7 separate regions of the Homo sapiens genome follow, and all the other regions are linked to region 3. Evidence: promoter capture Hi-C in 16 types of primary human blood cells and fetal thymus (Javierre and others, 2016). All regions are on one chromosome and are shown on one strand. The core of a region is centred on a gene start or on the middle of the fragment in contact, and the rest is flanking DNA. Distances in the headings are between cores, read along the strand shown. Region 1 has its middle 7.3 kb from the start of NLRP8. Region 2 overlaps NLRP4 (NLR family pyrin domain containing 4). Region 3 holds the start of KIR2DL3 (killer cell immunoglobulin like receptor, two Ig domains and long cytoplasmic tail 3). Region 4 holds the start of NLRP9 (NLR family pyrin domain containing 9). Region 5 has its middle 39 kb from the start of NLRP13. Region 6 overlaps NLRP8 (NLR family pyrin domain containing 8). Region 7 overlaps NLRP13 (NLR family pyrin domain containing 13).

The links. Contacts are between HindIII fragments. The CHiCAGO score rates a contact against its expected background, and 5 or more counts as called.
Region 1: a contact is called between a fragment that was not itself captured here and the fragment with the promoter of KIR2DL3 in region 3, in 1 of 17 cell types (non-activated CD4 T cells). The highest score is 5.4, in non-activated CD4 T cells.
Region 2: a fragment that was not itself captured here is called in contact with the fragment with the promoter of KIR2DL3 in region 3 in 4 of 17 cell types (non-activated CD4 T cells, activated CD4 T cells, total CD4 T cells and 1 more); the score reaches 6.4 in non-activated CD4 T cells.
Region 4: a contact is called between a fragment that was not itself captured here and the fragment with the promoter of KIR2DL3 in region 3, in 1 of 17 cell types (non-activated CD4 T cells). The highest score is 5.8, in non-activated CD4 T cells.
Region 5: a contact is called between a fragment that was not itself captured here and the fragment with the promoter of KIR2DL3 in region 3, in 1 of 17 cell types (naive CD8 T cells). The highest score is 6.4, in naive CD8 T cells.
Region 6: a fragment that was not itself captured here is called in contact with the fragment with the promoter of KIR2DL3 in region 3 in 1 of 17 cell types (non-activated CD4 T cells); the score reaches 5.5 in non-activated CD4 T cells.
Region 7: a fragment that was not itself captured here is called in contact with the fragment with the promoter of KIR2DL3 in region 3 in 5 of 17 cell types (total CD4 T cells, non-activated CD4 T cells, naive CD4 T cells and 2 more); the score reaches 8.2 in total CD4 T cells.

Annotation. Positions count from the first base shown.
Region 1 is chr19:55,938,637-55,942,401 of GRCh38, forward strand. No RefSeq gene overlaps it. Among named protein-coding and RNA genes, the nearest start is that of NLRP8, 7.3 kb to the right of the region's middle. The HindIII fragment of the contact is 7,001 bases long and covers 1-3,765 here.
Region 2 is chr19:55,873,047-55,876,556 of GRCh38, forward strand. The region is part of intron 7 of NLRP4 (NLR family pyrin domain containing 4); the gene reads left to right. Among named protein-coding and RNA genes, the nearest start is that of NLRP4, 38 kb to the left of the region's middle. The HindIII fragment of the contact is 602 bases long and covers 1,505-2,106 here.
Region 3 is chr19:54,736,460-54,740,211 of GRCh38, forward strand. It overlaps KIR2DL3 (killer cell immunoglobulin like receptor, two Ig domains and long cytoplasmic tail 3), which reads left to right and starts at 2,054. Exons shown (of 8, transcript NM_015868.3): 1 at 2,054-2,120; 2 at 3,048-3,083. The coding sequence starts at 2,087. It overlaps KIR3DL3 (killer cell immunoglobulin like receptor, three Ig domains and long cytoplasmic tail 3), which reads left to right. Exons shown (of 8, transcript NM_153443.5): 8 at 1-173. RefSeq lists an enhancer at 1-107. The HindIII fragment of the contact is 12,642 bases long and covers 1-3,752 here.
Region 4 is chr19:55,737,504-55,740,930 of GRCh38, forward strand. NLRP9 (NLR family pyrin domain containing 9) reads right to left here and starts at 899. Exons shown (of 9, transcript NM_176820.4): 1 at 592-899. The coding sequence starts at 871. It also overlaps the pseudogene RN7SKP109. The HindIII fragment of the contact is 1,780 bases long and covers 1,054-2,833 here.
Region 5 is chr19:55,891,736-55,895,525 of GRCh38, forward strand. It overlaps a transcript of NLRP13 not described here. Among named protein-coding and RNA genes, the nearest start is that of NLRP13, 39 kb to the right of the region's middle. The HindIII fragment of the contact is 595 bases long and covers 2,107-2,701 here.
Region 6 is chr19:55,973,269-55,976,844 of GRCh38, forward strand. It overlaps NLRP8 (NLR family pyrin domain containing 8), which reads left to right. Exons shown (of 10, transcript NM_001433706.1): 7 at 384-554; 8 at 2,865-3,035. Among named protein-coding and RNA genes, the nearest start is that of NLRP5, 12 kb to the right of the region's middle. The HindIII fragment of the contact is 2,930 bases long and covers 242-3,171 here.
Region 7 is chr19:55,916,972-55,920,911 of GRCh38, forward strand. All of the region lies in intron 4 of NLRP13 (NLR family pyrin domain containing 13), which reads right to left. Among named protein-coding and RNA genes, the nearest start is that of NLRP13, 13 kb to the right of the region's middle. The HindIII fragment of the contact is 762 bases long and covers 1,468-2,229 here.

The DNA of each region.
Region 1 (3,765 bases), core at 482-2,981, 1.2 Mb after region 3:
ACGGAGTCTCGCTCTGTCACCCGGGCTGGAGTGCAGTGGCGCGATCTCAGCTCACTGCAAGCTCCGCCTCCCGGGTTCACGCCATTCTCCTGCCTCAGCCTTCCGAGTAGCTGGGACTACAGGTGCCCGCCACCACGCCCAGCTAATTTTTTGTATTTTTTTTAGTAGAGACGGGGTTTCACCGCATTAGCCAGGATGGTCTCGATCTCCTGACCTCCTGATTCGCCCGCCTCAGCCTCCCAAAGTGCTGGGATTACAGGTGTGAGCCACCGCGCCCAGCCAACTAGTGGTAATTTTTTTAAAAGAAAATTCCTCAAGCCAGTCCTTCCCAACGCCCCCTCCCTTGTACTCTCTGCTGGTGAGTTTTCCTTCTCCCACAAGCTCTGTCTCTGGGTCTCCCTGAGACTGGGCCCGTTGTATGTGGGACCTAGACTGGGCCCTGATGATCTTGAGACCCTCCTTTTGCTCGATACAATTATATCCCAAGTAGAAGAGATGAACATGTAAACAAGATGAGCCCGTGAATGACTGGATGTTTCCAAATGGGAAGTGGCACTTTCGGACTGAACACGGTGTTAGCCTTCTAAGGAGACTGGGAAGCTCTCCAAACATGTAATTTTCTGTTGCTTGTTCTTCTAGACCTAAGAAGCAAGGGAAGAGTTTCCTTTACAAATCGGAAGCACCTGTAGGATCAAGACCTGCAGCTCATTCATTCTGAATCAAGGGAGCTAAATGCCTTCCAATCGGTGCAATGCAGAGGAATTCTAGTGAGCCAGCCCCCGCCAATGGGAAGAGAAGGTGCCAATTGTCTGAATTCCCCGGCACCTATAAGGGTTGGGGGGTGGGGCAGGCCAGGCGATCTCCGTTTTGGGAGATGCTTTTGACAGGAAGGAGCAGGAAGAATAATTCTCTGCAGAGGTGAGCTTTGTTTTGTTTTGTTTTGTTCTTTTCTCTTTTCTACCTACTCTTTTCCTCATCATCCACTTCCTTGCAGTTACAATGGCTAGACCCTTGAGTTGGGCGCACCCAGTGGGCCCATACTGAAAATCAAAAGTGAGAGCTAGAGATTCAACTGCAAACATAACCAGCTCTCATTCATAAAATCCTTGCCCATCTCTGAAACTCAGCTTTCCTGACCCCGAAGTGGAGTCCTAAATTCCCAAGTTTTCTTTCAGCTCTGAGGGTCTGAGAGCCAGGAGACTCATAGCACTAGCAAAATTCTAAGACCTGAAAGAGATGTCGTGGGGTCTCCAGGTGTCCAGAGGTCTAGGGTAGCCACTGACAGATGTAGTTAGAAAAAAATCAAAATAGCTGTAGACGCGAAGAAGAAATCGCGAGGCACAGAGAAAGAAAGCCGCAAGGATTAAGCAGCACTGACTTTGACACTGCCCCTCTGCAAATATTCCTTCTCAATAAACGCAGATGTGTCACCCACACGGCTCGGCTCGTGGGCTTAGGAATTTGGTCAGGTTCCACCTGCTGGTTTCCAACACTCACAGCTTGGGCTGAATTTACTTAACTTAGTTCAATTTCCGTTTTCTCCTTTGTAAATTGGACGGAAAGGGATTCATGGGATATAATTCTTACCAAAACGTAGAGTTATATGGACTCTAGGGTGATCAAGACGTGACCACAGAACCAAATGGAGATGACAGACTTTTATCTTTTAAAAATGTTTACCCGCTAGAATAGCTATGTTTAAAATGGAAAATAATCAGCGTTGGCAAGAATGTGGAGAAAATGAAACTTTAGTGCATTGTTGATGGGGATGGGAAATGGAAAATAGTATGGCGATTCCTCCTGCTGACCTCAGGTGAACCGCCCGCCTCGGCCTCCCAAAGGGCTGGGATTACAGGCATGAGCCACCGCACCCGGCCTGCTTTTTAATTTTTAATTTTTCTGGGTACATAGTAGAGGTATATATTTATGGGGTACACGAGATGCTTTGATACGGGTATGCAATGTGTAATTACCACATGATGGAGAATGGGGTATCCGTCCCCTCAAACATTTATCCTTTGTGTTACAATCCAATTATACTATTTTAGTTATTTTTAATGTATAATTAAATTGCCATAGACTATAGTCACCATGTTGTGCTATCAAATACAAGGTCTTATTCAGTCCTTCTAATTTTTTGGGCACATTAACCATCCCCCACTTTCCTCCCCACACCCCACAACCCTCCCCAGCCTCTGAACACCACCCTTCTACTCTCTATATCCATGAGTTCAATTGTTGTGATATTTATTTATTTAGAGACAGGTTCTCGCTCTGTCACCCAGGCTGGAGCGCAGTGGTGCGATTTCGGCTCACTGCAACCTCCACCTCCCGGGTTCAAGCAATTCTCGTTTCTCAGCCTCCCAAGTAGCTGGGATTACAGGCACCCGCCATCACAGCTGGCTTATTTTTGTATTTTTTGTAGAGACAGGGTTTCGCCATGTTGGGCAGTCTGGTCTCGAACTCCTGAACTCAAGTGATCTGCCCACCTCAGCCTCCCAAAGTGCTGGAATTACAGGCTTGAGCTACCGTGCCCAACCTGTTTTAATTTTTAGATCCCAAAAATATGTGAGAACATGCAATGTTTGTCTTTCTGTGCCTGGCTTATTTCATGTGTAGATGATCCTGATATACTTCTGTAGGGAAGGAAATACTTTTCCCTCTCTCTCTCTTTATTGATCTTAGATTCCATGGCTCTCTCTTTATTGATCTTAGATTCCTTGGCTGGAGTCTGTGCATTAGGCTCATGAAAGACAGATTAACAAAAGCACAGCAAACAGAAGTTTATGTGTGCATACCCATGGGAGCACTCCATGATGAGAACACTCAGGGGTGGTTAGAACTTAGGCTTATATGTCATGCTAACAAAAGAACAATACATTCTCTTTTTTTTGAGACGGAGTTTCACTCTGTCGCCCAGGCTCACTGTAACCCCCGCCTCCCAGGTTCAAGCAATTCTCCCGTCTCAGCCTCCCGAGTAGCTTGGATTACAGGTGCCCGCCACCACTCCCAGCTAATTTTTGTACTTTTAGTGGAGACAGGGTTTTGCCATGTTGGCCAGGCTGGTTTCGAACTCCTGACCTCAGGTGATCCGCCCACCTCGGCCTCCCAAAGTGCTGGGATTACAGGCGTGAGCCACTGTGCCTGGCCAGAACAGTACATTCTCAGAGAAGTGAAAAGACAAATGAGAAAGACCTCGAATTCCTGGGGGGGTAAATTGTGAGAAGGTAAATGTATGGGGGAGAAAATGGAGGATGAGGGCTAGTTCATAAGGTTTCTTGTGTAGATTTTTCTGGCGCCCTCGCACTGCTGTACGCATCTGGAGCTTGTCTCCGGTGATTAACTTCTGTGTTTCCTGGTAGAGAAGGGGAAAAGGGGCACCTTTACAAACTGATGTCTTGCATTTAGGCAAATCAAGGGAAGACAGATTTTTTCTTGTGTCTGCTCCTTCTCAAGTATCTTCAGCTCAAAATAGTCCGTTTGAAATACACAACAAATTATTATGAACTATAGTCACACTACTGTGCTATCAAATGCTAGAGCTTACTCCTTCTATCCATTGTATTTTTGTACCTATTAACCAACCGCTCTTCATCCAACCCCTCCCACCTGCCTTTCCCATCAATATGTACAATTATCACGTACCAATTTTTAAGAATGAGTACAACAAACTGGAATATTTGGGGGTGGCGTATTCTGCCGTCCCTCATTTCTCTGAAAGGCCAGGAACTCCTTGCTCAGACCCATCAACCACCTGCATCTGGA
Region 2 (3,510 bases), core at 556-3,055, 1.1 Mb after region 3:
TCTATAGCCACCAAAAACTATCAAGAATGAGGATAAAAACACATTTTCAAATAAATACCAAGTTTCTTACCACCAGATCCTTCCTAAAAGTAATTCTAAAGACTGTTCCTTAGACAGAAGTAAATCATTCCAGATGGAAGAGAGATAGAGCAAAGAGAGGGGTAGATCTCTGGATAAATCTAAACAAAATGTGGATTGTGTATAAAAATAATACCATCTTGAAGATTTAATGGAAAAAATATACAACAGCCATAACAAAATATAAAGGGGTAAATTAAGGTGAATACTCAAATTAGCAGAAAAGAGGAGACAGAATGATTAAAAAATTCCCGATCCAAAAAAGAACAAGGAAACAAAAATTGAACAGGTAAGAAAATATGAAACAAGATATATATTTGAATTCAAATATGCTAGTAATTAAACGAACAGATTAAATGTTTCAGCTAAAAGATTGCCATATTAAAACGTAACTAATGTTTATAAGTTACTTATTAAAACGTGAGGTTGTGGTTGTACAACATTGTGAACTGTAGTAAGTGCCACTGAACTGTTCACTTTAATATAGTTAATCTTAAGTAAATTTTACCTCAATAAAATGATGAAAATGAAAGGATAGAAAAAAAGACCACGCAAATATTAAAAGGAAGCTTACGCAACTGTATGAATCAGACAAAATAGAATTTAAGACAAAGTATTATTCGGTTCATGCTAATTTTTAAATTATCTTCCTACTCAGTTGAACTTTAAATCTTACAAGGTGAACATAATTACTTCCCATATAGAGTCCAGGAATCTAAGAGAAATCATAATGGAAATTAGAACATATGTTGAAATGAAAAAGGAATATACTTTGCAACAAACTCAGATGGAGCTGTAGTGCATGTATATATTTTAAAAGGAATCTAAAGAATAATGAACTTAAGGATTTTTTTAATGGTAAAATAAACCCCCTAAAGGATGGAAGGAAATAAAAATAAGGACAGAAACTAATGAAACAAAAATCACAATGGAAAAGATCAGAAACCTGCAGGGTGGTTCTTGGAAAAAACAGTTTTTGTTAATGCCATCCTATAGAATATAATGCAAGCCACACATGTAATATTAAATTTTCAAGTAGCCATATTAAAAGTGATGTAATATTTGAAAGTAATTTTATAAGTAAATATTTGAAACTAATTTTAATAATATAGTTTATTTAGCCATATATCAAACATCACTTCAATATGTAATCAGTACAAAAAATTACTAATGAGAGATTTTACTTTTTTGTATTAACTCTCTAAGGTTCACTATGTATTTTATACTATGGCACATCTAGATTCAGACAAGCTACATTCCAAGTGCTCAGTGGTCACACGTGGCTGGCTATCACACTGAAGAGTGCAGGTCTATGTCAAGAATGGGAAAAGAAACATTACTACAGATGCTACAGATATTAAAAAGATTACATATGAGCAACTTTACACAATAAACTTGAAAATTTAGATATTTTCAAGACTCAATAAGCTTCTAAAATGATAGAACCTAAATGTACTCAAGACAAAAGAAAAATGAATCAGTCAAATCTTTTTATATAGAAAATTCCAGGCTTAGAAGCCTTCATTGGTGATTCTTACCAGACATTCAAAGAATAAATAATTCCACTCTTACATCAGCTTTTTCAGGATCAGAAGAGGAGAAACTCCCCACCATTTTTTGTGGCTAGCATAATCTTGATGCCAGAAACCAATAAGAATTTTATTGGTTGTAATATAATCCTTACAATTTTTGTAAGAAAGCAGAATTAAAGGCTAGTGTCATTCATGAAATGCAAAAACACTGAACAGAATATTAGCAAGCAGAATCCATAAATGTATTAAAAGAATAAACATAATGACTAAGTTGGGCTTATCCCCAAAATGTAAAGTTGCTTTAACATTAAAAAGATTAGTAAAAAAATCAATGTAAATCACTTTACTGGTTAAAAATAAAAATCATGATCTAAAATGCAGAAAAGTTTGAATTAAGACATACAATTCTTGAAAAACTATTTGGGAACTTCCTTGATGATCTAAAGAATATGTTCAAAAAAATCTAAAGCAAACATTTGTCTAATGATGAGAGAAAAGCTTTCTCTTCAATATCATGAAAAAGATAAGAACGGTGGCTATAATCACTTCTAGTCAACAGTGTCCTGAAAATCTTAGCAAATGCTTCAAGGTAAGAAAAACACTAAACCTGTAATCTTTGAAGAAACACCTAATTCTATACAGATGATTTGAATGTACATAGAAAAATCCAAGAAAATCTGTAGCTAAGTTATCAGAATTAGTCTAACAAGCTTGCTTGAAACAATATATCAAAAACAGTTACTGATATACCAACAAGAAGTAATAAGCTAGTGGAATTAAATAAAAGTACCTTTTACAGTAACATAAAAAAGAAATTACCTAGAAATAGCTACTGTGATATATGTGAGACTTTTATAGAGAATATGATCAAATTATGGTATAAAACAATGTTATATTCAAAGATTGAAATATTCAGTATCTAAAAAGTCAGTTTTCTGTAAGTTGAATTCATTTGCTTTCATGAAATCCCAGTGAAAATGCGATGTTTTTGTTTGGTGATTGAGTTGAACTTGAAAAGTAAATTTTAAAATGTGTATGGAACTTGCAAGAGGCCAAGAATACCTAAGAAACACCTAAAATATAAAAAGTGGGCCAGGCGCGGTGGCTCACGCCTGTAATCTCAGCACTTTGGGAGGCTCAGGTGGGTGGATCACCTGAGGTCAGGAGTTCAAGACCAGCTTGACCAACATAGTGAAACCCCGTCTCTACTGAAAAAAAAAAAAATACAGAATTAGCTGGGTATGATGGTGGATGCCTGTAATACCAGCTACTCAGGAGGCTGAGGCAGGAGAATCACCTGAACCCGTGAGGCAGAGGTTGCAGTGAGCTGAGATTGTGCCGTTGCATTCCAGCCTGGACAACAGGAGTGAAACTCCGTCTCAAATAAAAATAATGTAGGAACTCTTGCTCTAAATGTGTCATCTAAAGTTTTAGAAATTAAAAAAGCATGAGATTCACACAGGGATAAGCAGACAGACCAGAGACACAGAATAGAGATCTCAGAAACAGACTGATCCACGTGTGTTCAGATGTCGCATCATGGAATAGCGTATCACTGGTGCAGAGAGAGGATAGACCTCCAACAAACGATGCTGAGACAATTCAGTTGTCCCTCCATATCCATAGGAGGTTGGCTACAGATTTCCCCTGAGGAGTCCAAAATCTGTAGATGCTCAAGTTCCTAATGTAAAATGGCATAGTGTGTGTTTTGAGACAGTCTCTCACTTTGTCGCCCAGGCTGGAGTGCAGTGGTGCGATCTCAGCTCACTGCAATCTCTGCTTCCCGAGTTCAAGTGATTCTTGTGCCTCAACCTCCTGGGTAGCTGGGACTACAGGCACGCATCGCCATGCCCGGCTAATTTTTTGTATTTTTTGTGTTTTTTTTAGTAGAGATGAGGGT
Region 3 (3,752 bases), core at 804-3,303:
GAACTCACAATTCCAAACATATAAGAGGCTCCCTCTTAACACGGCACTTAGATACGTGCTATTCCACCTTTCCTCAGAGTATCTTTCAGCCTTCTGTCAGCAGTAAAACTTATAAATTTTTTTTATAATTTCAATGTAGTTTTCTATTCTTCAAGTAAACATGTCTGCCCTCATGGTTTCTTCAATGGGACTCTTTTCTTGCCTAAGGCTTCCGGTGTTATCATTACCACGTCCACATAACCCCATCTGTTCTCCGCTGGGTTCTCAGCCCTGGACTCTGAGCTTCTGGAAGCATGGTGGAGCCTGAATTGTCTCTGAGACTCCAATTTCCATCCAAAGATGCAGCACATAGGAGGTTCCAAGGATGGTGAATCAGATGAACAAGTGATATTCTTACTCTCTGCAGATCTGGAAAGCTGGCAGAGTCATTCCACGATGAAACATTTGTAGAGTCATAGGCCTTGTTAGTCTCATCTCCACAGGGACACGTATCAACACATCATCTTTCATACTACTATAAATAGACAGTCACTCCTCCATATCTCTGGGGTTTACACATGTTTATTGAATCAGCAATAAATCAAAAATATTTTGAGAAAAAAAATCCCCGAAGTTTCAAAAAGCAAAAAACTATGTTGAATCGACACAAATTGAGTGGCGTGTAGGCTGTGTCAGGAATTATAAGTAATCAAGAGATGATTTCATGTATACAGGAGGATGTGCATGGGTTCTATGCAATTGCTATGCTATTTTTTTTTTTTTTTTGAGACAGTCTCACTCTCTCACCCAGGCTGGAGTGCAGTGGCGTGATCTCAACTCACTGCAACCTCCGCCTTCCAGGTTCAAGCGATTCTCTTCCCTCAGCCTCCCCAGTAGCCTCCCCTAGGATTACAGGCACGTGCCACCATGCACAGATAAATTTTTTTGTGTGTATATTTTTAGTAGAGATGGGGTTTCAGAATGTTGGACCAGCTGGTCTTGAACTCCTGACCTTGTGATCTACCCAGCTCAGCCTCCCAAAGTGCTGGGATTACAGGCGTGAGCCACGGTGCCCAGCTTCACTATGCCATTTCATGCAAGGGGCTTGAGCATCTGCAGATTTTGGTATCTGAATGGGGATCCTGGAACCAATCACCCAGGTATAGTGAAGGACCATGGTATATAATTTTTATTTGTCAATCTTAAAAATAAAGCATAAAAAATTTACAACAACAAGATAAAAAATAAGAAGTGTTTTTATAGTGTGAGGATAAGTTTAGATTTATTTTTTCCTACGTGTAACCCTATGGTCCTGTGTTATTTGTTGAGAAAATATTCTATTCCACCTTAAACTACATGGCAGCCTTTGTCAACTATAAAGGGACTGTGTATCCACAGATGTATTTTAGACACAGTTTTCTGTCCAGTGGTTCTCTGTATCCCCTCTCATGAGGATGCTGCATTTTATATAAACTTATAGAACCCCTTAAAATTTGGTAACCTGAGTCCTCTGATTTGTTATTATAGGTTATTTAGTTTGCTTTTTTTTTTTTTCTTGAGACAGACTCTTCCTCTGTCACCCAAGCTGGAGTTCAGTGGCTTGAGCTCAGCTCACTGCAACCTCCGTCTCCCAGGTTCAAGCTATTCTGATGCCTCTGGTTTAGTAGTAGAAACTCAAGCAGGAAAATTAGAATGGCTTCTTGTCACAATTACTCTGATAATGTTAATAATACCTGTTAGACATTTTGCACATTACATATGAAGAAGAGTTTGAATCTCAGATAAAAACAAAAATACATCAAAAATCTTTAATGTAAGCACAGAATTCAATCATCTCGTGTATGAGAGGTTGGATCTGAGACGTCTTTTGAGTCTGGTCGTAGTGAAGGACGCAAGGTGTCAATTCTAGTGAGAACAATTTCCAGGAAGCCATGTTCCGCTCTTGAGCGAGCACCCACTGGGCCTCATGCAAGGTAGAAAGAGCCTGCGTACGTCACCCTCCCATGATGTGGTCAACATGTAAACTGCATGGGCAGGGCGCCAAATAACATCCTGTGCGCTGCTGAGCTGAGCTGGGGCGCGGCCGCCTGTCTGCACAGACAGCACCATGTCGCTCATGGTCGTCAGCATGGTGTGTGTTGGTGAGTCCTGGAAGGGCATCGAGGGAGGGAGTGCGGGGATGGAGATCGGGGCCCAGAGTTGGAGATATAGGCCTGGAAGTGGAGTTATGGGCCTAGAGATGGAGTGATGGGCCTAGAAGTGGAGATCTGGGCCTGGAGTGGAGATCTGGGCCTGGAGTGGAGATATGGGCCTGGAGGTTGAGATATGGGCCTGCAGTAGAGATATGGGCTTGTAGTGGAGACATGGGCCTGGAGATGGAGATATGGGCCTGGAGATGGAGATATGGGCCTGCAGTAGAGATAGGGGCCTGGAGTGGAGATATGGGCCTGGAGTGGAGATATGGGCCTGGAGTGGAGATATGGGCCTGGAGGTGGAGATATGGGCCTGGAGGTGGAGATATGGGCCTGGAGTGGAGATATGGGTCTGGAGGTGGAGATACGGGCCTGCAGTAGAGATATGGGCCTGGAGTGGAGATATGGGCCAGGAGTGGAGTTATGGGCCTAGAGGTGGATATCTGGGCCTGGAGTGGAGATATGGGCCTAGGAAGGAGATATGGGCCTGGGTGTGGAGATATGGGACTGGAGAGGTGATATGGGCCTGGAGTGGAGATATGGGCTTAGGGTGGAGATCTGGGCCTGGGGCGGAGATATGGGACTGGATTGGAGATAGGGGCCTAGGGTGGAGATCTGAGCCTGGATTGGCGATATGGGCCTAGGGTGGAAATATCAGCCTGGAGTGGAGATATGGGCTTGGGGTGGGGATATGGGCCTGGAAACTGGGTCTCTGCACAGCCGACAGCCCTGTTCTTGGGTGCAGGTAGGCACTGAGGGTGAGTTTAACTTCAGCCCAGGAAGGGCCTGGCTGCCAAGACTCACAGCCCAGTGGGGGCAGCAAGGGAGGCCTGGTTTGCCTGCAGATGGATGGTCCATCATGATCTTTCTTTCCAGGGTTCTTCTTGCTGCAGGGGGCCTGGCCACATGAGGGTGAGTCCTTCTCCAAACCTTCGGGTGTCATCTCCCCACATAAGAGGATTTTCCTGAAACAGGAGGGAAGTCCTGTCGGGGAGTCTCTCATAAACTAGGAAGAGAGGACCCTGGGGTGCTCAGCCCACATTTCTGACCTCGCCTCCCTGGCCTCTCAACCCCTTGGCAGAGTCAAGTTCTGTGGGGACCAGGGTTAGACTGGGGTGCTCAAAGCTGGGGTGTGTGGTTGGGAAGTGGTAGGAACAGCAGATCCTCTGAGGACAAAGGTGTTACTCACACACTTCAGCGTTTCCATGATGGTAGGGGCTGCAGTGTGGCTGCTGTCATTCTACCAGAAGAGGTGGGAAACCACAGCCATGGCCCTGACATTCCAAATCCTCTGATGGGGGCTCAGTTGTTTATTTTCGTTCAGGCATCCGCTGATATCCATTCACAAAGGACATGCCCTCCACCTCATGTCTACCCTGTGTTGTTTTATGTGAGTAATCTTACAGTATTAAAATCTAGTAGGAGTCTCTTTACTCAGCACTTGCTCAAAGTTCTCAGCTGAGGCTTTTGTTGTAGGGAGACACCATGTCTTTGCGGGATGGGTCCTTCCTTCAGCCCTGGGCACCAAGGTGTGATAGTAGCCATAGAAACGTGGAAAGCGAGGAGAATCTTCTGAGCACA
Region 4 (3,427 bases), core at 694-3,193, 1.0 Mb after region 3:
GAACCTCCAAACAAGCTCGCAAGAATGCTTCCTGTAGTACCCGGGACATACGCTGTCTGATTGTCTTAAGATTCTACCTACTCCTTGGTACATGTCTGGTCAAAAAGGACAGGCAGTTAGGCATGGTGGCTCACTCCTGTAATCACAGCACTTTGGGATGCCTAGGCAGGTGGATCACTTGAGCCTGGGAGTTCAAGACCAGCCTGAGCAACATGGCAAGACCCTTTCTCTAAAAAAAAAAAAAAAAAAAAAAAAAAGATAGGCAACTACCATACTAGAATTCCATCTCAGTAGACCTGGCAATGCAGACACTAACTGGCCACTCATCTCCTATAACAACGACTCCACTTGGGGTGGAAAAATGGGAAGACACTCCATAGGTGAACAGTTGGTATCAGGACGCCATCTGTCCCCAGTTCATCGCTGGCCCACATATGAACAGCCCTGGCCTGCAACTCTTCCTACCTTCAACTCTCACCTTGACCCACACACATTCTCATCTGATGGAGGGGGTGGCCACTCATTTAACAATGCTATCACCTTGTTCCCAGGCTTCCCCCATGGGTCCTCGCCCCATCATCCAGCACTTACTTCTCATCTCTTCCTGAGCCTTTGTCCAGAGATCTTTCCTATTGATCTGTAGAAACAGGTTCAGTGTTACCTCCCATGCCTGCTTTCCTGGGTAATGTTTGTCCAGCAGCTTTGCTACATCTTCTTTGGAGGCCTTCTTCAGCTCAGCCCAGGGGATTGGCTTGAGTTCAAATTTCTCCAAAGGTTGTTTGAGGAGCTCCTTAAATTTCCAAAACTCTTCCTTTCTGAGCTCCTTCAGATACCACAACAAGCCAAAATCCGAAAAAAAAGATTCTGCCATATCGCCCCAGGATTGTGAACTGAGGTGTCTCCAGAGGGAAAAGAAAGATCCTCAAAAATAAAGAATAAATGATACCTGGAGAAGAATGACATGATTACAGAGTTAAGCTTCAGCAGCTGAAAGCAGCTCAAAATTATTGATATCATCATGCGTAGCTTGCACCAAACATCATCTAGGGAAGAAGCTTCATCTTTTTCCAAACAAATGCATGTGAATGGTAGAGTTGACTGCCACTTATGTGTCTTGTTTTTGTCTGACATAAATGATGCTTCCAGGAACAAGTGTTTTTGTGTAGTTTGGTGTATATAAGCACACATTTCTCTAGATTTATAAATTATAGGTCAAACAGCAAACACAGGTCACCATGTTTGCTACATAACACTCAACGGTTTTCCCTTGTGTATATAATTACTGACATTCCTACCAGCATTCTATGAGTTTGTTTGCTCTGTAGACCTTCCCATCCTTAGTATAGTCTAATCCAATTTTGATAATGAAAAAATGAACGGATATTAAAATTACAGATGATCACATTCAGGAAGATGAAAATAAAGGAAGAGGACATAAAAGCAAATTTAAATTTTTTTTTATCGTTTAGTGGTATATGCCTTCTTTTTTTTTTTTTTTTTTGAGACAGAGTCTCGCTCTGATGCCCAGGCTGGAGTGCAGTAGCGCAATCTCGGCTCACTGCAAGCTCTGCCTCCCGGGTTCACGTCATTCTCCTGCCTCAGCCTCCTGAGTAGCTGGGACTACAGGTGCCTGCCACCACACCCGGCTAATTTTTTTGTATTTTTAGTAGAGATGGGGTTTTACTGTGTTCGCCAGGATGGTCTCGATCTCCTGACCTCGTGATCCACCCGCCTCGGCCTCCCAAAGTGCTGGGATTACAGGCATGAGCCACCGTGCCCGGCCGGTATATGCCTTCTTATTACAGTATATAAGGAAAAAGTTAGATTTACTATAGGTTAGCATCTGCAGACAACTCAGACAGAAACAGAGCAGTGAACGTTCCCAGTATTATAAACCCTTCAGATAATCATTGCAATTCAACAAAAGACAGGAAATGAAGTAGAAATATATGGTAGACAAAATAAGACAGGTGGCAAAAATAATACCAAATATATATAGATATGTATTTTGAGATAGAGTTTCACTCTTGTTGCCCAGACTAGAATGCAATGGTATGACCTCAGCTCACTGCAACCTCTGCCTCCCAGGTTCAAATGATTCTCCTGCCTCGTCCTCCCAAGTAGCTGGGATTACAGGCACCTGCCACCATGCCCGGCTAATTTTTTTTTTTTGTATTTTTAGTAGAGATGGGGTTTCACCATGTTGGCCAGGCTGGTCTCGAACTCCTGACCTCAGGTGATCCACCTGCCTCAGCCTCCCAAAGTGCTGGGATTATAGGCTTGAGCCACTGCGCCCAGCCTAAATATAATCTTAACACATATGAATGAAATAAAATTGCTCACTAATATATAGACTCACATTGGATAAATACAAATCCTGCTATATGCTGTTTATAAGAGAATCCTAGAAAATACACAGAGAAGTAAAACAGAAGAAGAAAAAGCCTGGCAAATTCTTACCCAAAAAAGTATTAATAGTATAAAATATCAGCATTGAAAAACACTCAAGCTAGAAAGCACTAAATGGACTAAGAATTTTTGAACACCAAGATTCAGTTCCCCAAGATCTAGAACTCATGAGCATATGTGCACCTGGGAATACCACTTTACACATAAGGAGATGATGACAAACGCAATATCATTGTATCTGAGCTAATATACCTTTCAGATAATTACAAACCATTAGCAAAGGTTACATACCATCTATGGTCACATGCAAAAGAATAAACTTGGACCCTTAATACCATAAACAAAAATTAATGCAAAATGGATTGAAGAAGATCTAAATGGAAGGCCCAAAGTATAAAACTCCTAGGAGAAAATGTAGGGCAGAAGCTTCCAGACACAGATTTGGTCTGGATTATTTCTTGAATATGACATGACACAGACAAAAGAAAAAAATAGACAAACTGGACTTTATAAAAATTTTAAAATTTTGTGCATCAAAAGACAGTATCAGCCAGGTGCGGTGGTTCATGCCTGTAATCCCAGCACTTTGGGAGGCCGCAGCAGGTGGATCACTTGAGGCCAGGAGTTTGAGACCCATGGCCCACATGGTGAAACCCTGTCCCTACTAAAAATACAAAAATTAGCCAGGCGTGGTGGCAGACACCTGTAATCCCAGCTGCTCGGGAGGCGGAGGCTGCAGCAAGCTGAGATCACACCGCTACACTCCAGCCTGGGTGACAGAGCGAGACTCTGTCTCAAAAACAAAGACGATATCAAAAGAGTAAAAAGTCAACCAACAGAATGGGAGAAAATATTTGCAAAGCATGTATCTCACAGGGATTAAAATCCAGATTACAGGGAATGCCTAAAACTCAATAACAAAACAATCTTATAACAATGAGAAAAGGACTAGAATAGACATTTCTCCAAAGATATACAAATGGTCCATAGCCAATAAGCACATAAAAAGAGGCTCAAC
Region 5 (3,790 bases), core at 1,154-3,653, 1.2 Mb after region 3:
AATTAAAAACATTACACCAAGGAGGACATAGACAAGACTGAAGGCACAGCCAACTTATGATCTTGGTACCAGACACAGTATTACACTAGGATTCCAGACCTGGGCGTGCAATGGGCGGCCTCCAACAACCGTGACAAAGCCTCCTGCAGGGAACAGCTCATTTGTCCCCACAAATGGTGACATTGGAGCGACACACAGGCCAGGATGTCCTGGTGGCTTTCCCCCAAGATCCATGGTCAAGCCACGTGGCATCTAATCCGTGGGATCACCACCACCACTTGTCTTCAAGGTCATTAAAATCCCACGCACACTTGAGTTTCAGACAGAGCTCCTTCTGTGAGGTCTGTATCTCCTCTCTCACTACATTGTGCAGGTCTTTTTGAAGCCTGCAAAATAAGAAGTACTGAAGTTTAGAAGCAGTGAAGAAGTTTAGAAGTAATTTTTAATTTTTAAGGTTCAGGGGAACACGTACAGGTTTGTTACATGGGTCTACTGTGTGGCATGAAGTTTGGTGTGTGAATGATCCCATCACCCAGGTAGTGAGTATAGCACCTGAAAGTACTTTAACCCTTGCCTCCTTCCTACTCTCCTCCTCCTAGTAGTCCCGTGTCTTGTCAACAAATATATGTGTATATATGTATATACACACACATACACACACACATATTCATATACATACACACATACACATATACGTATTGTTTGAGACGCAGTGTCACTTTGTCACCCAGGCTGGAGTGCAGTGGCGTGATCTCGGCTCACTGCACCCTCCACCTCCTGGGCCCCAGCGATTCTCCTGCCTTAGGCTCCTGAATAGCTGGGATTATAGGCGCACACCACCACGCCGGCTAATTTTTGTATTTTTAGTAGAGATGGGGTTTCACCATGTTGGCCAGGCTGGTCTCGAACTCCTGACCTCAGGTGATCTGCCCACCTCGGCCTCCCAAAGTGCTGGAATTAGAGGCATGAGCCACCATGCCTGGCCTACTGTCACCATCTTTAAATCCACATGTACTGATTGTTTAGCTCCAACTTGTGAGAACATGTGGTATGTGGTTTTCTGTTCCTGCATTAGTTCACTTAGGCTAATAGCCCTCAGCTGCGTCCATGTTGCCACAAAGGACATGGTTTCATTCCTTTTTAGAGCAGTGTAGTACTCCATGGTGTATGTGGACCACATGCATGTGTGTGTTCCTCACAGCACTGTTCACAATAGCATTGACATGGAACCAACCTAGGTGCTCATCAACAGCAGACTGGATGGAAGCAGTGAAGTACAGGCAGGGTGCAGTGTAAAGTGGCAAACTGATATAAAGCATAATAAAGGTTTAGACAAAAGTAATTGCCATTTTTGCCATTAAAAGTAATGGCGGCCAGGCATGGTGGCTCACACCTGTAATCCCAGCACTTTGGGAGGCTGAGGCAGGTGAATTACCTGAGGTCGGCAGTTCTAGACCAGCCTGACCAACATGGAGAAACCCCATCTCTACTAAAAATACCAAGTTAGCTGGGTGTGGTGGCACGTGCCTGTAATCCAGGCTACTCGGGAGGCTGAGGCAAGAGAATCGCTTGAACCTGGGAGGCGGAGGGTGCGGTGAGCCGAGATCACGCCATTGCACTCCTGTGTGGGCAACAAGAGTGAAACTCCATCTCAAAAAAAAAGTAATGGCAAAAACCATTACTTTAAAACCACTGCATTAAAAGTAATAGCAAACACAATTACTTTGGCACCTACCTACAGAAAGACTAACAAATGAAGGGTAACTTTTGTTTACCCTTCGACTGGGACCTCCCACCACCCTAGCCTTACCCACAGATGTCAGGGAGAAGATTTGATGGCACGGGAACCCCTTTCCATAGAGAAAAGGCACAACCACAAAGGTAGAGGATGAGAAAACCATGGCGCAGATGACACAAGGGACCTTGTGGGCAGGCCAGAGTAACTCAGGCCATTTTCACTGTGTATGAATAAATCCAAGTACTTCTCATTAATCTGCATCTAGCAATTTTTGAAAAATAAAATCTGAGCGTTCTACAAGAGGAGGCGAGGGTCTGGGCACCCAGTCAGAAGCCCCTTCTGCACACATGCATGATAGACAGCAGAGAAGCTTCATCTTTAACGGTTGCTGTCCCAGAACCCTTTTTAAAATGCACCACTGAAGTGTGAAGTTGGCAACATCAAATCTTTAAAAGGTGCAGATCGTGACTCACTTCCTAAAGTAGGCAAGGTTCCTTGGCATCTGGGATGACTTCTGCTGAGATGTACCAGTAACAGCTGTTAACTGCTTACCTTTCTCCATGCCCCAACTTTTTTTTTTTTTTTTTTTTTGAGACAGGGTCTTGCTCTGTTACCCAGGCTGGAGTGCATGATCATGGCTCACTACAGCCTCAAACTCCTGGGTTCAGGCAGTCTTCCCACCTCAGCCTCCCAAGTTGCTGGGAACACAGGTGTGTGCCACCATGCCAAGCCAATTTTTTAAAATTTTTGTAGAGACAGGATCTGCCTATGTTGCCCATGCTGGTCTTGAACTCCTGGCCTCAAGTGATCCTCCTGCCTTGGCCTCTCAAAGTGCTGGAATTATAGGCATGAGCAACTGCAGCCAACCTGCTTACCTTTCTGATTTCCTCTCAGAATACTGAATGGGGTGGAAAGTGTTCTAATTAAATGCTCTTCTCTCAGTGCCTCAAAGGGGCAACATAAAGCTTGGTGCAACCTCAGGGCCTTTGCACATGCTACTGAAACATCCTCAGTACATTCCACCCTTCATCTCTAGTCACCTCTCATGTTCCCTTCCTGATATAGGGACTCCTCCTTCCAGCCTCCTTGGGACTCAGGATCAATGGTACCGCCTCTGGCAAGCCCCTTGCTATTCTGGTCACCCTCCTGTCTTATCTCAACCCAGAGTTTCTTTCACAGCATTCATGACAACAGAGATTGCTTTTATGTCTCAGACCTGTTATCTCCTGGAGGAGAACTCAAGACTCTCAAGGACAAGGCTCATGTCCGTTTGTTTCCCCCCTGTCTACCATGCCATGGTGCTTGGCCCAGAGTCGGTATTGAAAAAGAAGCCACAAGTTAATGGCTATGGAGTGACACGTACAGTAGGTACAAGAATGATAAACAGAAGCAGGCTCTCAAAATACCCAAAAGTCTCCAGGACTGCACCATCCAGTACGGTAGTCATTAGCGACATGTGGCTGTTAAGATTTAATTAGTAGGTTGATGCAAAAGTAATTGCCATTTTTGCCACTAAAAGTGACAGCAAAAACCATTACTTTAAAACCACTGCATTAAAAGTAATAGCAAACACCAAAATTACTTTGTACCAACCTAATAAAATTAAAAATTTATATTTATATTAAAATAGGCTGGTGGCCAGGAGCAGTGGCTCACGCCTGTAATCGCAGCACTTTGGGAGGCGGGCCAACATGGTGAAACCCCCGTGTCTACTAAAAGTATGTTAAAAAAAAAAAAAAGAAAGAAAAGAAAAAGAAAATTAGCCAGGCGTAGTGGCATGCACCTGTAGTCCCAGCTACTGGGAAGGCTGAGCCAAGAGAATCACTTGAACCAGGATGGGGAGGTTGTAGTGAACTGAGATTGCGCCACTGCACTCCAGCCTGGGTGACAGAGCAAGACTCCATCTCAAAAAAGAAAAGAAAAAACAGTCCGGGCATGGTGGCTCATGCCTGTAATCCCAGCACTTTGAGACGCCGAGGTGGGTGGATCACCTGAGGTCAGGAGTTCAAGACCAGCCTGGCCACTACGGTGAAACCCCCATCTCTACAAAAA
Region 6 (3,576 bases), core at 457-2,956, 1.2 Mb after region 3:
TCCTTAGCCCACTTTTTGATGGGATTTTTTTTTCTTGCTGATTTGTTCTTTGTAGATTCTGAATATTAGTCCTTTGTCAGATGTATAGATTGTAAAGATTTTCTCCCACTCTGTGGGCTGTCTGTTAACTCTGCTGATTATTTCTTTTGCTGTGCAGAAGCTTTTTAGTCTATCAGTTTTATTGATCCACAATGCCTTCATCCCACCATTCCCACATCGAAGCTGCTGTCCTTTCCTTGAAAGCTTGGAAGTCCTGAGTGGTGATGACAGAGGTGTGAGGATGCTTCTGCATCCAGAGGGAGAGCCCTGACTGAGAAGATCACCCTTCTGTGTGAGACAAAGACCCCTCTCCATTCAGTCATCTGTGTGCTTCTCTCCCATAGGATAGAGAACTGCAACCTTACACAGCTTACTTGTGAAAGCCTTGCCTCCTGTCTCAGGCAGAGTAAGATGCTGACCCACCTGAGCTTGGCAGAAAACGCCTTGAAAGATGAAGGGGCCAAGCATATTTGGAATGCCCTGCCACACCTGAGATGTCCTCTGCAGAGGCTGGTGTAAGTCCCAGAATGTTTTCTTCTCTGAATTCCCTGGAGCAGAACAGGGTGATGAAGAGAACCTGTTATATATTCATTTATGTCACATATTTATTAAGTGCCTACTGCGTGTTAGGCATGGTGCTAGCACTGAGGGGAAAAGCACAATAAAGAGGAGGGTTATTATTTCTGATTCAGGGACAAGTGATCTAGAGGCAGAGTTCTCAAACTGTGTACCAAGACACCCAGGAGTGAACTCAGAAGGACTGCAGGGTATTTTAAATTTAAGGAATATTGAGATCTATCTGTTCATCACTGTAAGAACGACTACCTCGAGGTGTAAGAATTAAAGAAAGAGGAAAGAAACACAAAAGGTGGCTTGACAGTTAAGGACAGGTTTATTTTAGAGAAAACAGACCTGAGAGGGGCTTCTGGCCGAGTTAGGTCAGAGCTACACTCTCTTATAGACTAAGAGTTTTTAAAGATTCAGGGTGGGAATATTTATCAGAGGCTTGGACTGCTTCTGTGACTCTTGGTTGTGCTTATCTGGGAGGGAGAGTTGTGTGTCTGTTCCCATACATCCTTCTGCAGCTGCAGGCATATCCCCTGAGTCTGCTTTTAGCTTCCCTATCTTAGTGCACCTGAAGGGAAAGGAATGTGCTATTAAGGCTCACTGTTTTGGGAGGCCTGTAATCCCAGCACTTTGGGAGTCCGAGGCGGGAGGATCACGAGGTCAGGAGATCGAGACCACAGTGAAACCCCGTCTCTACTAAAAATACAAAAAATTAGCCGGGCACAGTGGCGGGCGCCTGTAGTCCCAGCTACTCAGGAGGCTGAGGCAGGAGAATGGCATGAACCCGGGAGGCAGAGCTTACAGTGAGCCAAGATCGCACCACTGCACTCCAGCCTGGGCGACAGAGTGAGACTCTGTCTCAAAAAAAAAAAAAAAGAAAGAAAAAAGGCCCATTGTTTTACTGGGGCTCGTGGCATGAATGTGAAGTTTGGCAGTTACCCGAGAGACTTTCCCCCCACCTCCCTCTGTGCCCTAGCTGTCTTATCTGTGTTTTACTGTCTGTTCTTTCTGGCTGCTTGTAATTAGGAGAGAAATGATTTCCTTGAAATGCATGAGGTTAGAAAGGGAGCTGGAACTTAAAGTGCCAGTGTCTGTCCGAGATCACGGTGCTCCTGCTCTGTCACGAGGTAGTTCATTTTCACAGCTTGAAATCAGCCATGGCAGAAGTGTTTGCACCATGGAAACTGGCAATCACTACACATGAGGGCTTTTGTTTGTTTGCTCTAGAGAGCTGGTTTACTAGGACATCACCGAACCATAACCATCGAATCCCCTCTTTATTTCTTGTCTCACATGAGAATATGAGCTGCTAAAAGGCAGGGGCTCTGCCTGCGTGAATTCCCATCCCCTAATTCAATGCCCCAAGCATAGTAACTCTCAGCAAATGTTTGTGAAAGGCAAGAGGTGGCGCAAAATACCCCCTGAAACACTGATACTGTTAGTTCTCCAAAAAGAAGCAGGGAACGGTGCCACTGCTTTGGAAAGCAGCTTTGGCAGTTCCTCAAAAGGTGAAGCACAGACTTAATCCGTGAGCCATCAGTCCTGCTAGTAGGTGTATCCACAAAAGAAATAAAAACCCACCTCCACATGAAAACCTGCACACAGTTCACAGCAGCATTATTCATAGTACTCATAATACCCAAGACCTGGAAACAACCTGTGTCTGTGCCCTGATGACGGCATAAAGGCAGTATGGTGTATTCACGCAATGGAATGTTATTTAATTGTTAAATGAAATACTGATTCATGCTACAGCATGGACGAATCTTCAAAATATTATGGTAGATAAAAGAAGCTAAACGCAAAAAGTCACATATTACATGATTCCATTTAAATGACATGCCAAAAATAGGCAAATCCAGAAAAAGAAAGCAAATTAGTGGTGTTAGGGTTGGGGTGGGTTGGGGGAGGAAGTGAGAAGTGGCTTCTAAAGTATCCAGGGTTTTCCTTAGGGGTGACAAAAATATTCCAAACCGAACTTACACAAATATTCTAAAATTGTGGTGATGATCATACAACTTTATAAATAGACTGAAAACCAATATTTGGTACACTTTAAGTGGGTGAATTGTGTGATATATTAATTGCATCTTGGTTATGCCATTATGCAAAAACAAAAAACAAACAAACAAAACAAACAAATAAAAACAGAACCCAAAAACAAAGAAGTAAAACCTAAGGGTGTTTTCGTTGTTGTTGTTGTTGTTGTTTTGTTGTAGTTGTTGTTGTTGTTGTTTTTAACCTGTGTTTCTTTGCAGACTGAGAAAGTGTGACTTGACCTTTAATTGCTGTCAGGATATGATCTCTGCGCTCTGTAAAAATAAAACCCTGAAAAGTCTTGACCTAAGTTTTAATAGCCTGAAGGATGATGGGGTGATCCTGCTGTGTGAGGCCCTGAAGAACCCTGACTGTACATTACAGATCCTGGAGTAAGTGGCCCCTCGTCTCCTCCTGTGAGACCAGGAGAATTGTATATAAGCGTCTCTCAGGATGGAATATATAACAGGAAAGGGCTGTCTTTTTAAGTTTCTGGATTGTTCCCTCCATTGAATTGGAGAACTGGGAAGCTTCTGAGCCGTGGTTCTCAAAGTGTGGATCAGCAGCAGTTTCGCCTGGGCAGGACACACACAAATTTTGGGGCCCCACTTCGGACCTAGGGAACCAGAAACTCTGAGGGTGGGATGCAGCAATCTGTGTTAACAATTGTTTTAAAAAATATTCTTCCAGTTGAATAAAAGATAACAAAGAGTTTGTCACTTTTAGACTGATATCTGAGATGACTGGTCTGAAATTGAATTTTACACTTAGGAGATATATATATACACATATATGTATATAAAGATACATATATAAATATATATGTATATAAAGATGTATCTAAAGATACATATATATGCATATATATGTATATAAAGATACATGTGGCCAGGCGCGGTGGCTCACGCCTATAATCCCAGCACTTTGGGAGGC
Region 7 (3,940 bases), core at 599-3,098, 1.2 Mb after region 3:
AATAATCTAGTCACCTATGAAGCAAAACCCATCAGACTAACAGCAGACTTCTCAGCAGAAATCTTACAAGCTAGAAGGAATTGGAATTTCAAAGGTTTTTTGTTTAAAGAAATAAACTGTTAACCCCAAGTTTTGTATCCTTCTACAATAAGCTTTATAAATGAAGAAATAAAGTCTTTTTCAGACAAGCAAACACTGAGGGAATTTGTCACTACTAGACTTGTACTACAGGAAATACTTGAAGGAGTTCTAAACATGGAACTAAAAAGGTTGATACTTGCCATCACAAAAACACACAAAACTATAAAATACACCAGTCTTATAAAGCAATTACACAAAGGAGAAAGAAATCAAATGATAGCATGACACAATTCCATCAAATCACAAAGAAAAAGAACAAAAAAATCTGCAAAGCAAATGGAAATCAACATTGTAACTGGAAAAAAGGTCATATATCAATATTAACCTTCAATATACATGGATTAAATGCGCTTCTTAAAAGATATAAATTGGAGGAATAGATTTTAAAACATAAGCCAAATATATGCTGCTTAAAAAAAAACTCATCTTACTTCACTATAGACTGAAGGTAAAGGTGTAGAAAAAGATTCCACTTTTCCCCCTTTGCTTCACAAAAAGCAAACTGGAGTAGCTATACTTATATTAGTTGAAAGACTTTCAACCAGCAACAGTTTAAAAAAAGGCAAAGAAGATTTTTATATAATGATAAAGGGATCAATTCAAGAAGATATAATAATCCTAAACATATATACATCCATACCAGAGTACCTAGATTCATAAAACAAATATTATTAGACCTAAAGACAGCAAAATAATAATAGTGGGAGACTTCAACACCCCACTGACAGCACTAGACAGATCATCAAGACAGAAAATCAACAAAGGAAGTCTGAACTTAAATTGGACTTTAGACCAAATGAAACTGACACACATTTACAGAACCTTCTACTCAACTGCAGAATATATATTCTTCTCATCAGTGCATGGAACATTCCTTGAAATAGACCGTATGTTAGGCTACAAAACAAGGCTCAATAAATTTTTTAAAAATGGAAATTATATCAAGTATTTTTCTCAGACTACAGTGAAATAAAACTAGAAATCAATCTCAAGAGAAACTCCTGAAACTATGCAAATGCACAGAAATTAAACAACTGCTCCTAAACAATCTTTAGGTCAATGACAAAATTAAGACAGAAATTAAGTTTTTTGAAACTAATGAAAATGGAGACACAACATATCAAAACCTCTGTGATACAGCAAAAAAAAAAAAAAAGTTTATAGCATTAAATGCTTACATTTAAAAAAAAATCACAAATTAACAACCTAACAATGCAACTCAAGGAAAAAGAATAAGAACAAATCAAACCCAAAGCTAGAAGAAAAATAACAAATCAGAGCAGAAATAGAGACCAAAATAACAATACAAAGAATCAGTAAAACCAAAGCTTGGTTACTTTAAAAAATAAACAAGATTGATAGATGGCTAGCTATACTAACTAATGAAAGAAGAGAAGATTCAAACAAACAATCAGAAATGAAAAAGGAAACATTACAACTGAGCCAACAGAAATACAGATGATCAGAGACTACTATGGACAACTCTATACTCACAAACTAAAAACCCAAGAAGAAATAGATAAATTTCTGGGAACATACAACCTACCAAGATTGAATCAGGAATAAATATAAATCCTGAACAGATCAACAACAAGGAGTGAGTGAATCAGTAATTTAAAAAATTAATAACAAAAAAATCCCAGTACCAGATGTATTTCACAACCAAATTCTACAAGACATACAAAGAAGAACTGGTACCAATCCTACTGAAACTGTTGCAGAAAAAGATGTTGGAGAGGAGGGAGTGCTCTCTAATTCCTTTTATTAAGCCAGTATCATCCTGATGCCAAAGCTCAACAAGGACACAAAAAGACAACTGCAGACCACTATCCCTGATGAACATAAGTGCAAAAATCTTCAACAAAATACCAGAAAACTGATCCAACAACACATAAAAAAGATAATACACCATGACCAAGTGGGTTTTAACCCAGGAATACAAGGACGGTTCAACACTCACAAATCAATAAATGTGATTCGCCACATAAACAGAATTAAAAACAAAAACTATATGATCATCTCTACAGATGCATAGAAGCATTTGGTAAAATTCAGCATCCCTTCATGATAAAAACCCTCAACAAACTAAGCTTCAAAGGAACATATGTCAAACTAATAAAAGCCATATATGACAAATCCACAGCCCACATTATACTGAATGGGAAACAGTTGAAAGCATTCTCCCCAAGAACTGGAACAAGACAAGGATGCCCACTTTCACCACTCCTATTCAACACAAAACTGGCTAGTCATAGCCAGAGCAATCAGGCAAGAGAAAGAAATAAAAAGGTATCTAAATTGTAAAGAAGAAGCCAAATTATCTGTTGATATGATCTTATATCTAGAAAACTCTAAAGACTTCTCTAAAAGACTCCTAGATTTGATAAATGAATTCATAAAATCTTAGTATTAAAATAAAGCAATGTACAAATATCAGTAGCCTTTCTATACTCCATAATGATCAAGCTGAGAACCAAATTAAGAAGGCAATCTATTTACAATAGCTTAAAAAAAAACACCTAAGGAATATATTCAACCAAAGAGGTGAAAGATCTCCACAAGGAAAACTACAAAAAGCTTAAGAAATTATGGATGACACAAGTAATGCTCGTGGATAAGAATAAATGTCATTAAGATGACCATATTTTCCAATATATCAATTCAATGCAATTCCTATCAAACTCCCAGTGACATATTTCACAGAATTAGAGAAAACAATCCTAAAATTCATATGGAACCAAGAAAGAGCCCTAATAGCCAAAACAATCAGAAGCAAAAAGGACAAATCTGTATGCATCACCTTACCTGACTTCAAATTATACTACCAGGATATAGTAAACAAAACAGCATGGTACTAGTACAAAAATAAACATAGATCAATGTAACAGAATAGAGAGGCCAGAAATAAAGCTATATACCTACAGCTAGCTGATCTTCCGCAAAGTCAATAAAAACACGCACTAGGGAAAGGGCACTCTATTCAATAAACGGTGCTGGGAAAACTGGCTAGCCATATGTAGAAGAATAAAACTGGACCATATCTCTCACTATATTCAAAAGCTCACTCAAGATGGAATAGAGATTTAAATGTAAGACCTGAAACTGTAAAAATCCTAGAAGAAAATGTAGGGAAAAGTTTTCTGGACATTGCCTTGGCAAAGAATTCATGACTAAGACCTCAAAAACAAATGCAAGAAAAACAAAAATAAACTGATATGCCTTAATTAAGAAGTTTCTACACAGCAAAAGAAGTAATCAAGTGAACAGATAACCTGCAGGATAGGAAAAAATATTTGCAAAGTATACATTCAAAGGGCTAATATCCAGAACCTACAAGGAACTCAATTTAAATAAAATCCCATTAGAAAATGGAGAAAGGACATAAGCAGACATTTTTTAAAAGAAGACATAGAAGTAGTCAAGAAACATGTAAAAAAAAAATGCTCATTATCACTAGGCAGAGAAATGCAAATTAAAGCCACAGTCAAAAAACCCAAATGTTGGCAAGGATTCAGAAAATGGAACACTTGTACACTGTTGGTGTGAAAGTAAATTAGTACAATATCTATGAAAATATTAGGATATTTCTCAAAGAACTAAAAATAGAACTACCATTTGATCAAACAGTATCACTATTGGGTATCTATTCTAAGAAAAAAAAATCATATCATAAAGATACCTGCACTCCTGTGTTTATTGCAGCAGTATTCACAGTAGCAAAGATACGCAATCAACCTAAATGTCCATTAATGGATGACTGGATAAAGAAAATGTGGTGTATGTATGTATGTATGTATAC